3 separate regions of the Homo sapiens genome follow, and all the other regions are linked to region 3. The links are contacts of gene promoters, found by promoter capture Hi-C in blood cells and fetal thymus (Javierre and others, 2016). All regions are on one chromosome and are shown on one strand. Each heading gives the region's core, a stretch centred on a gene start or on the middle of the fragment in contact. The rest is flanking DNA. Distances are from core to core; before and after follow the strand shown.

Region 1 (3,296 bases), core at 678-3,177, 84 kb after region 3:
AGGCGGCCCCCGGGGTTTGGCTCCGGAGCGGGTGGGAGCAGATGGCTCCGGATCCCAGAGTTCCCGCCGCAGCTGCGGCGCCCCGGGAACGTCCGGCCGGTGTCAGGCGCGGGGGCTGGACCTGGCTGGCGGAAGGAGCATCCTTTCCCCCGGGCCTGTGGCTTCTCTCGGCCAGGCGATGGAGCCCTTCCCCACAGTTCTTTTGGAGGGCGTTTGTGGGGAGGGTGTGGGAGATGGAGGCATAGGAAAATCCTAGCTCTTTCCCTTGGGCTGTGGGGAGGGGTCCAGGGCTACAGTGCCGTTGACCTTGAAGAAGGGGAGGGAAACCCCTCACCTCAGTTTCTCTCCTGTGGAATGGAGGTTGGGGAAGACACACTCTCTTCTGTGTTTCAGCACCTCCTCCCAGGGTCTGCCCTGGGAACCAGTGGGTTAGGGAGGAGCTCCTCTTCTATTCTTTTTCCAGAGGGAAGAACCTGCCACTGTCAGAGCCCTGGTCTCCCTGTCTGGGGCCAGGACCCGCGTTTGGGGATGTGCTTTAAGGGAGATGCCAACTGAAGTATTTTTGTCTTGCTAGCTCCGTTGCTAAGCAACCACTGAGCGGCAGCAACAGCTGGGGGAGAGTGGCTGGGATGGGAGGCCTGGGGACCACCCTCAAACCTGTCTGTTGCACACACCTCTCCAGTGCAGGCAGGGTTGGGGGGGGGTTGGAAAGCTGCAGAGGGAGGAGGGGTGGCTCAGTGTTGGGGGTCCTTCTGAGCCAGGAGCCTCCCCTCTTACTGCCCTTCTCCCGTTACAGAGGCTGTGATCAATAGCCAGGAATGGACTTTGAGCCGCTCCATTCCTGAACTGCGCCTGGTAGGTAACCCAGTCCCCTTGCCTATAGGGAAGGCTGACCTCCCACCCACTGCACTCTCAGCTCTCTCCCTTCACCTCTCCTTCTCTCTCTCTCTCTCTTTGGGAATAGGGAATCGTTTTCCAGTTCTCCTGAGAGTCTGCCTTCATAGCACCAACATGGGGTTTGCTACAGCCTCCTCACAAGTTTTTCCTATCTAGTCTTTATGCAGCCATCCCCTTTTTCCTGTTTGTTCATGGTCCTCCTCCAGGCTTCTCATTTCTGGTATCTGCCCTTTGGCCTTCATGTTGTACTGCCTAGAATTGGGTAAAGTTTTCCAACTAGTGCCTAGAGCTGTGACATGCTACAAACACACACACACAGAGACACACACACACAACATATCTAGTATGTTTTCTAAACAACCCAACACACAAAAAAGCTGGTACTGAATTGCTGACATTCTTCAGCTCGTGCTCCACTTTGAGCTTGGGATCATTTCTTACCACACTCATGCCCTGATCCTCCCAACTGCTCTGATCCCCCCAGCTGCTCTGATCCTCCCAACTGCTCTCTCTGGAATGACTGTCATCCAGGCCCTGTAGGGTCCTGCTTGGATGACTTATCTCTCTGGGTTTTCTGGAGTGTCCAGACCCATGCATCCTGCCTTCTCTTATATCCCACAATTTCTGCTCCACAACCTTGCCCTCAGGGTGTGCTGGGCGATGCCAGGAGTGGGAAGTCATCGCTCATCCACCGATTCCTGACTGGCTCATACCAGGTGCTGGAGAAGACAGAGAGTGAGTTCTGAAGAGCCATAGTAAGCTAACCATTGGGGTCAGGGATCCAGGAGTGAGATCAATGATTAGGCAGGTGTGGAGACCAGGGGGGAAGGATGAGGCCATAATAGCAAAAGCACTGGGAGCATGGGGAGGTTTGGTGACCTGTCACCTCTGACCTGTTACCCCTTCCAACTCTTCTGGACAGGTGAGCAGTACAAGAAAGAAATGTTGGTGGATGGACAGACACATCTGGTGCTAATCCGAGAGGAAGCTGGGGCACCTGATGCCAAGGTGAGGGTGGAGGTGGTGGGGGACAGGCTGGCTGGGGTCAGCACTGGCCAAAGGAGAGGGCTCTGGTTTCCCAGGTCTTCATCTGGATTGGGTCCAGAGGAGTAGACCTGTCTGACTTTCCATTTGCTCCCTCACTCCCCGCAAGTTCTCAGGCTGGGCAGATGCTGTGATCTTCGTCTTCAGCCTGGAGGATGAGAACAGTTTCCAGGCTGTGAGCCGTCTCCATGGGCAGCTGAGTTCCCTTCGCGGGGAGGGACGAGGAGGCCTGGCCTTGGCACTGGTGGGGACACAAGGTAAGGAGGGGTTAGGAAAGCACTGCTTTCAAGGGAGGCCCTAAGGAGGCTACTGGGATATTGCCCAACATGGGTGAGAACTTGGTAAGGTGTGGAAATGGCCACTTGGATTATAGTACCCTTCTGGAGGGAGCCTGGTCTCCAAATAAGGGAGTCATGAAACCAAACAATAACTTCCCAAGGTCTGAGCAGAGAAAAGGGGATCTCCAGGGAGGAAAGGACAGCTATAGTAGCCATCTCCTTGCCTCTCCTGAAATGTCACCTACCTTGTGTTCTGACACTGCCATTTCCTAGTGCCACCATCCTAGGACACAGAAAATCTCAAGTCCTAGGGTGGATAGGAAACCTTTTCCATCTTCCTTTTTGCGACAGCTGGGTAAGGCTGACACCTTTTAAAGGAACTTATCCAAAAACAAAGTGAAAACACAAAGGAAATGATGATGAAAAGAAGAGAGCAGAAAACCTTTTAGTTCTCAGAGAAGTGACTCAGAGGCTCCCAGACTCTGCCAGGGCCAGGAAATGCTTTTCCAGCACTCCCCTGTGTCGAGCTGGTGGGACTTGGTCTGGATGCCTGTTCTGCTGGTGCCTATCTCCACCTGTTGCTTGCATCCTGGTTTCTTGCTGCAGAGTGGGCAGTCCAGCCATGACCCATGGGCACCCAACCTTTTCCTAGTTCACAAGCTGGTGTCCTCCCACCAGTTCAGGGTTCTATGGATTTGCAGGGCAGGGTGATTGTCGCTCGCGCCTGGGTCTCAGCTATGTAGACCTTGTCAGGAAGCACCACTCAGCAGCTCTGGAGTATTCCTTGAGGACACACACACACACACACACACACACACAGCTCACCCAGCTAGGTGTGTGAACTGGGCCCAGTACTCAGAAAGGGCTTATGTACTCCCATTCCACCTGGTCACAGAAAAGATGATCTCTCACACCCCATCCCCAGTGGACCCAGCCTGAGGGCCCAGTGCAAGGATAAGGGAATTGTGAAAAATCGAACAAGGTGGGGCTCCTTGTTCAATCCTGCCCCTTTCCTGTCCCCTCAGACAGGATCAGTGCTTCCTCCCCTCGGGTGGTGGGAGATGCTCGTGCCAGAGC
Region 2 (2,894 bases), core at 216-2,715, 120 kb after region 3:
CTTGGAGAGATATCTCTAAAGTCTGTTTTCCACTTGTGGTCTTTCCATTCCTCCCTTTTAAAAGATTTTTTAAATCCTTATTTGCCCTCCATAAAGATAAGAAATTATGGTATCCCTGAAGCAATTATATTAGGGAAACATAGAAGAACCCAAAATTAAATATTAATTGAACTTCTTGAACATTCCTGGCACTGTTCTGGCCACTGGGAATACAACTGTGAACAAGATTAATTCTTTGACCTCATGGAGTTTACACTCTAATGCGGGGAATCAGACCGAAAATAAACAAACTGATTCAGTAAATATGATTTCAGATCATGAAAAGTGCTACGATGAAAATAAAACAGGATACTGGAGCAGAGTGATAGGGCAGGGGGTGACTTTAGCAAGTAGGCTTAAGGAAGTACTCCTCCTACCCCACGCAGACCCTCAATCTTGCTTTAGCCCTTTTCTGAGATCTTCTATCCTAACCTGCTCCTACGTTCAGCAAAGTGTCATCAGTGGTTGCAGGATTCTTTGCTTCTTTCCTGTCCGTGTAATCTGTCTACTCCTCCAGTGGTCTTCTTAACCACTACAGGTCCCCTAGATCCTGCCTCATTCAGTGGACTCCAGTTCTTGGATGAACTGCTAGTTTCCAAGCCCTCATTCTATCTAACCCAGTCCCTTTCACCTTCAGCAAGCAGGGAGCATCTCTCATTGGGCTCAACAACTCAGGGATCCCAGGCCCTTGGTAAGCAGGTGTTTCCTCCTCCCTTTCACGCTGGAAGTGAATAGCTCCAGCTGGCAGGCGACACTCATAGCGCTGTTTGTACTTAGAGGAGACAATCACCACGTCCGAAGATTGGCTCTGGGAAAGAAGGGAGGGTCGGGGGGCAAGGAAGCAAAGAAAGGCTGGGATCAGGGAGAACAACGAAATCCCTCTTCAAACCCTGGGGAAGAGATCAGTCGAAGACAGAATAAGCCATAAGCCCTCCAGCTGTATTTAGTGGGTGAGAGGAGAGGGCGCTCCCATTTCTCCACGGGGGCGGAGTCCGGGTGTTTCGATCATAAACTGAGACCTGAAGGTTGACAGCGGGAAGCCCCACCTCTCCCAATTCCTGGCCCCCAGAGAATTGGTCTCAGTCTGCGACCCCCAGGGGTCACCGTAAAAGCAATACCTACTCTTCCCGATTCCCCGTAGGCTCCAGCCCCAGACTCCGGAGCTGCCCTTCTTCCTCTATCTCTTACCCGCTTCCTCTTCTGCCCAGACCCTCGCCCCTTATACGCCTCTCACCTGCCCTCCCATGACAGGCAACGGCAGGATCTCGATCCCATAACGCATCTCACTCAGCTCCTCCAGGTTCAGGCTCCCGACACCGCCGGTCAGACTTGCGGGTAACAGGAGTCCCAGAAGCAGCAGTCCTAACAAACTGGACAGCAGCGTTTCCGCCGCCATCTTTCGTTCCCCTTCTTATGCAGAGAATCTGTTTCCGCCCTAAGCCAGGCAGCGGCCTCAACACGCCCATCGGCGCCACATGATTTTATTGGCTGTACGTTCTATCCCTCCCACGTACCCTATTCCTATTTGTAAACGTGGCTCCAAGGTCCTGGGGAGGTGGATCACGACGATTAGAAATATCAATCGCTGTCCGTGATTGGTCAGAGACCAGCCAATCATCGACAAGATCAAACCCCTCCTCGTTCCCCAATTTCAGAGGCGTGGTCTATGCGCTTGGTCCTTTTAAGTTTGCCCTCTGTCTTCGCCCAGCTGTCATGCGCATCTCATTGCTTTTTCAGACGTCTCTTGCATTATATCCTGCCCACCGCCGGGCGGAGTATTGAGGCAGATAGGTAGCGTGCGCAGTGCCGGTGAAAGTTATTAAATGCTTGTTGCAAAACAAACAATTATTATACGGACGCTTACCTCTTTTCATATATACATATTGCTTTGAGGCAATCAGAAAATTTGTGTCAAAACCTTCCTATACGATCCTGCAGTTGACCTCCAGTAAAATGACCTCCAGTAAAAATCCTAGAGAAATAATGCGGGCAGCCAGACGTGGTGGCACGCACCTGTGGTATCAGCTACTCCGGAGGCTGAGGCAGGAGGATCTCCTGAGCCCAGGAGTTCAAGTGCAGCCTGCGCAACACAGCGAAACCCCGTCTCAAATAAGTACGTACATACATACATACATACATACATACATACATACATACATACATGCATACATGGGCTTCCAGTTAAGGTGAAATTATGTATTACTCTCCAGGCCGTAAGAAAGGGAAAGGAGACAACAACAGCAACATTTTGGAAGCTGGAAATCAAACAGAAGAATGTTAACTGGTTTAGCAAACTTGAGAATATTTATTACGAAACAAAGGTAAACAAGAGGCTGATTATACCTTTGGAAAACCCTCTCTGGGGAATCTCACCAGCCAAAACGAAAAATCCCAAAGATACCCTTATCAGAGTTCTCTTAATGATATAGATAACTAGAATGAATTCCACATGTAACACTTTGGCCTACGTGCCCCAGCCCTCATTCCACTTTCCAATCAGCTTTTTAGTGTTCTTACTCTTCAAAATAAATAGCCAGAGATCATTAGACATTTAAGGAAGGACTTTAATATACAAGTAAGAAACAAACAAGAAGGGAAAAGCAAATGAGAGGAAACATAAATTGCAAGGGAGGGGAAAAAACACTAAAAATAAAAAATTTAAAAATAGGCCGGGCACGGTGGCTTACGCCTGTAATCCCAAAACTGTGGGAGTCCGAGACGGGCGGATCACTTGAGGTCAGGAGCTCAAGACCAGCCTGGCTAACGTGGTGAAACCCCGTATCTACTAAAAATACGAAAATTAGCTGGGCATGGTGGCACGCGCCTATAGTTCCAGCTACTCAGGAGGCTGAGGC
Region 3 (2,819 bases), core at 181-2,680:
CCATTTCGTGCCGCTTTCCCCCTTCAAGATGCCATTTGGAGGGTAGGGGATCTGCTTCCCACTGTGACTGGGCTATGGGATTCTGACTACCTTGCTTACAGATTCATGGTTTGATAAATTTGTTGTATTCAAAAACTTGAAATGCAGGACGCCATTAAGTGTCTGTTTATATTTTTGGAATATTTGTATTACTTACAATTAATTAATAAAAGTGGGTTTAAAAAACCTTTCCAGGAATGTGAGCTGCCACCAACCTTCATTGGCCCTTAAGTGTTCACTGGGCCCATGGCAAGCACCGCCTTTCTTCTCGCAACCCCTTCCATCATGAAGCAGCTGCACCCCCGGGCTGAGTGGGGTGTTGCACCCACCGGGAGGCCAGCTGCAGATGCCACACAGGGCTTCCGCTCAAGGTTACACAAGTTCTGCTGTGATCAACCCCATTGCAGTCAGGTGCTTAGCACGTGTATATGCTTGATGTCCTATTGACTTCTGGGCATGAACCAGAAGCCCTAAGGGAATGGATTATTATTTTTTTTTTTTTTTTTGAAATGGAGTCTTGCTCTGTTGCCCAGGCTAGAGGCAGTGGCATGATCTCAGCTCACTGCAACCTCCACCTCCCAGGTTCAAGCGATTCTCCTGCCTCAGTCTCCTGAGTAGCTGGGATTACAGGCGCCTGCCAGCACGCCCGGCTCATTTTTGTATTTTTAGTAGAGATGGGGTTTCACCATCTTGGCCAGGCTGTTTTCAAACTCCTCACATTGTGATCCACCCACCTCAGCCTCCCAAAGTGCTGGGATTACAGGCGTGAGCCACCACCACACCCAGCCCTGGGAATGGAGTCTTGATTCTTCTCTGCCCCTCACTGATTCTTCCAAACTGGAAACCCTGAAGCTGAGAGCCCAGCATGGTTCCTGGCAAACAGCAGGCACTCAAATATTGATTGGTTTACTGTATGACTAGTAGAGACCCCAACGAGCAAAACTGTGGCCTAATAAAATTCTGGCTCCTCTCCCAGACTTCCCCTCCCTTTGAGAAATGCCAGAAGCTTCTTAGGGAGGCTCTTGCCAACCTAGACATCACAGGCACTCATGGGGCAGCTCCAGCCTCTTCCTCCTGTCATCACCATAATGCATCCATATCTACAATATGGCAAATTTCATATCCTTCCAACCTCTTTCCTGCATTATTGATGGGCTGTGTGCACTTTTTAAAAAATCAATTAGATCAGGGCGTGGAGCTGGAGTTCAAAGAAGCCTTTAAAAGTCTGCTCTTCTGTTTTGCTGTTTTGAATAGGCACAGATAAAGCTTTCCCTCTGGTTTGAATAAGCCAAGCTCAGTGCTAGGTTGGCTCTGATTGGCCAGGACTAGGAAAATGCGGTTAAGATGCAAACACAAGCAAATATAACCCAGTATCTCTGCGGCCATTACTAAGCTAAGGCAGCAGGACCTGGAGCCTCCTGCTTTGGAGTGGTTCTTCAATACTGCTGCTGCTTACGCGCCGGGAAACTGGGAAGGCTGGTGAGCGAGAAGGCAAGGTAAGGTCTCTGATTTACGGGGGCATGCCAGTTAATCCTCCTGAATGAGGAAGAAATGAAAGGAAGAGGAGCTTGAGAGTCCCTTGGCTTTGTCTTCTGAGATGAGGCTTTTAAAATGAACCAGGAGTCTGGCTGGCCAGTTTTGCAAACTTCTTGTTCAGAAGAACCCCTTAGAGGCAGCTGAACATATAGGGCACATTTTCAAAAGCTGGGAAAGACAGACCCCTTTCACCTATCCCTAGAGAAAGATGGTATGGAGCAAGGCAGGAGGAGTTAAAACCAGCTTCCTGGCCCAGAGAGGTGGCTTACACCTGTAATCCCAACACTTTGGGAAGCCAGGGCATGAGGATTGTTTGAGCCCAGGAGTTTGTAACTTGTGACCATCCTGGGCAACATAGTGAGACCCTGTCTCTACAAAAAAAAAAAAAAAAAAAAAAAAAAAAAAAGCCAAGCATGGTGGTGCACACCTGTGGTCTCAGCTTCTCAGGAGGCTGAGGCAGAAGGATCACTTGAGCCCAGGAGGTGGCGGTTGCAGTGAGCCGTGATTGTACCACTGCACTCCAGCCTGGGTGACAGAGCAAGACCCTGTCTCAAAAACAACAACAACAAAAAACAGCTTCCTCTGCTCAGGGTCCGTCCAAAAGGGCATCTCTGAGAATTACAGGCCACTGGCTTTTAACCTGACATTTCAAAACTGTGCCCCACACCCAAGGGGTTTCTGCAGTCCTCTCAAAGGATACTGAATTAGGATTTAGGGAGAAGGAGAGACCCAGCTTTGGGAGATTTGATGTCAGAACTGTGTTTTCTGTGTGTTCCAGTGTGACAGGAAGTCCCTTCCTGGAGCTTATCCTCTCGCATTCGGGGTGCCTGGCCCAGGGAGCTCCTTGATTCCTAAATTCCTGCTGGGAAACGGGACAGGTTTCAGCCTCTGAGGCTCACAGTCCTAATTGCTGCCGGCTGGTTTGGCTTTTACCAGGGTGACAGTTCTCTGTCTCCAAGGAATGAATTCAGTGGCCCTTGTCCCCTTCCCCTAGTTGGCTCATGGCTTTTGCCTTTAATGACTGCTACGTAGGGTCTGAAGAAAACCCAAACACCATATTTCCTGGCAATTCTGAGCAGCACAGGGTGGGGCAGCACAAGTTATCAAATTAAATTCTCAAACACTGGCTGCTCCGCACCATTGCCTTGCTTTAGTCCTGCTACAGCAGTAGACAAAGCGAGTCTGCTTTGAGCTTTATGGTTTTTTGCCAAAGTCCATACTAGATGGCGCATGCTCTCCAAACT

Evidence for each region. The method cuts DNA at HindIII sites, captures the fragments that hold promoters and counts their contacts. A CHiCAGO score of 5 or more calls a contact.
Region 1: a contact is called between a fragment that was not itself captured here and the fragment with the promoter of AVIL in region 3, in 2 of 17 cell types (M0 macrophages and M2 macrophages). The highest score is 5.7, in M0 macrophages.
Region 2: the fragment with the promoter of OS9 here is called in contact with the fragment with the promoter of AVIL in region 3 in 1 of 17 cell types (neutrophils); the score reaches 5.1 in neutrophils.

The regions. Positions count from the first base shown.
Region 1 is chr12:57,732,928-57,736,223 of GRCh38, reverse strand. It overlaps AGAP2 (ArfGAP with GTPase domain, ankyrin repeat and PH domain 2), which reads left to right. Exons shown (of 19, transcript NM_001122772.3): 2 at 797-855; 3 at 1,545-1,632; 4 at 1,820-1,905; 5 at 2,051-2,198; 6 at 3,245-3,296. Among named protein-coding and RNA genes, the nearest start is that of AGAP2, 4.2 kb to the left of the region's middle. RefSeq lists an enhancer at 1,395-2,594. The HindIII fragment of the contact is 5,376 bases long and covers 1-3,296 here.
Region 2 is chr12:57,692,703-57,695,596 of GRCh38, reverse strand. OS9 (OS9 endoplasmic reticulum lectin) reads right to left here and starts at 1,465. Exons shown (of 15, transcript NM_006812.4): 1 at 1,274-1,465; 2 at 671-847. The coding sequence starts at 1,435. RefSeq lists enhancers at 1,225-1,274, 1,262-1,836. The HindIII fragment of the contact is 11,057 bases long and covers 1-2,894 here.
Region 3 is chr12:57,817,345-57,820,163 of GRCh38, reverse strand. It overlaps AVIL (advillin), which reads left to right and starts at 1,430. Exons shown (of 20, transcript NM_006576.4): 1 at 1,430-1,535. It overlaps CTDSP2 (CTD small phosphatase 2), which reads left to right. Exons shown (of 8, transcript NM_005730.4): 8 at 1-237. The HindIII fragment of the contact is 1,940 bases long and covers 1,308-2,819 here.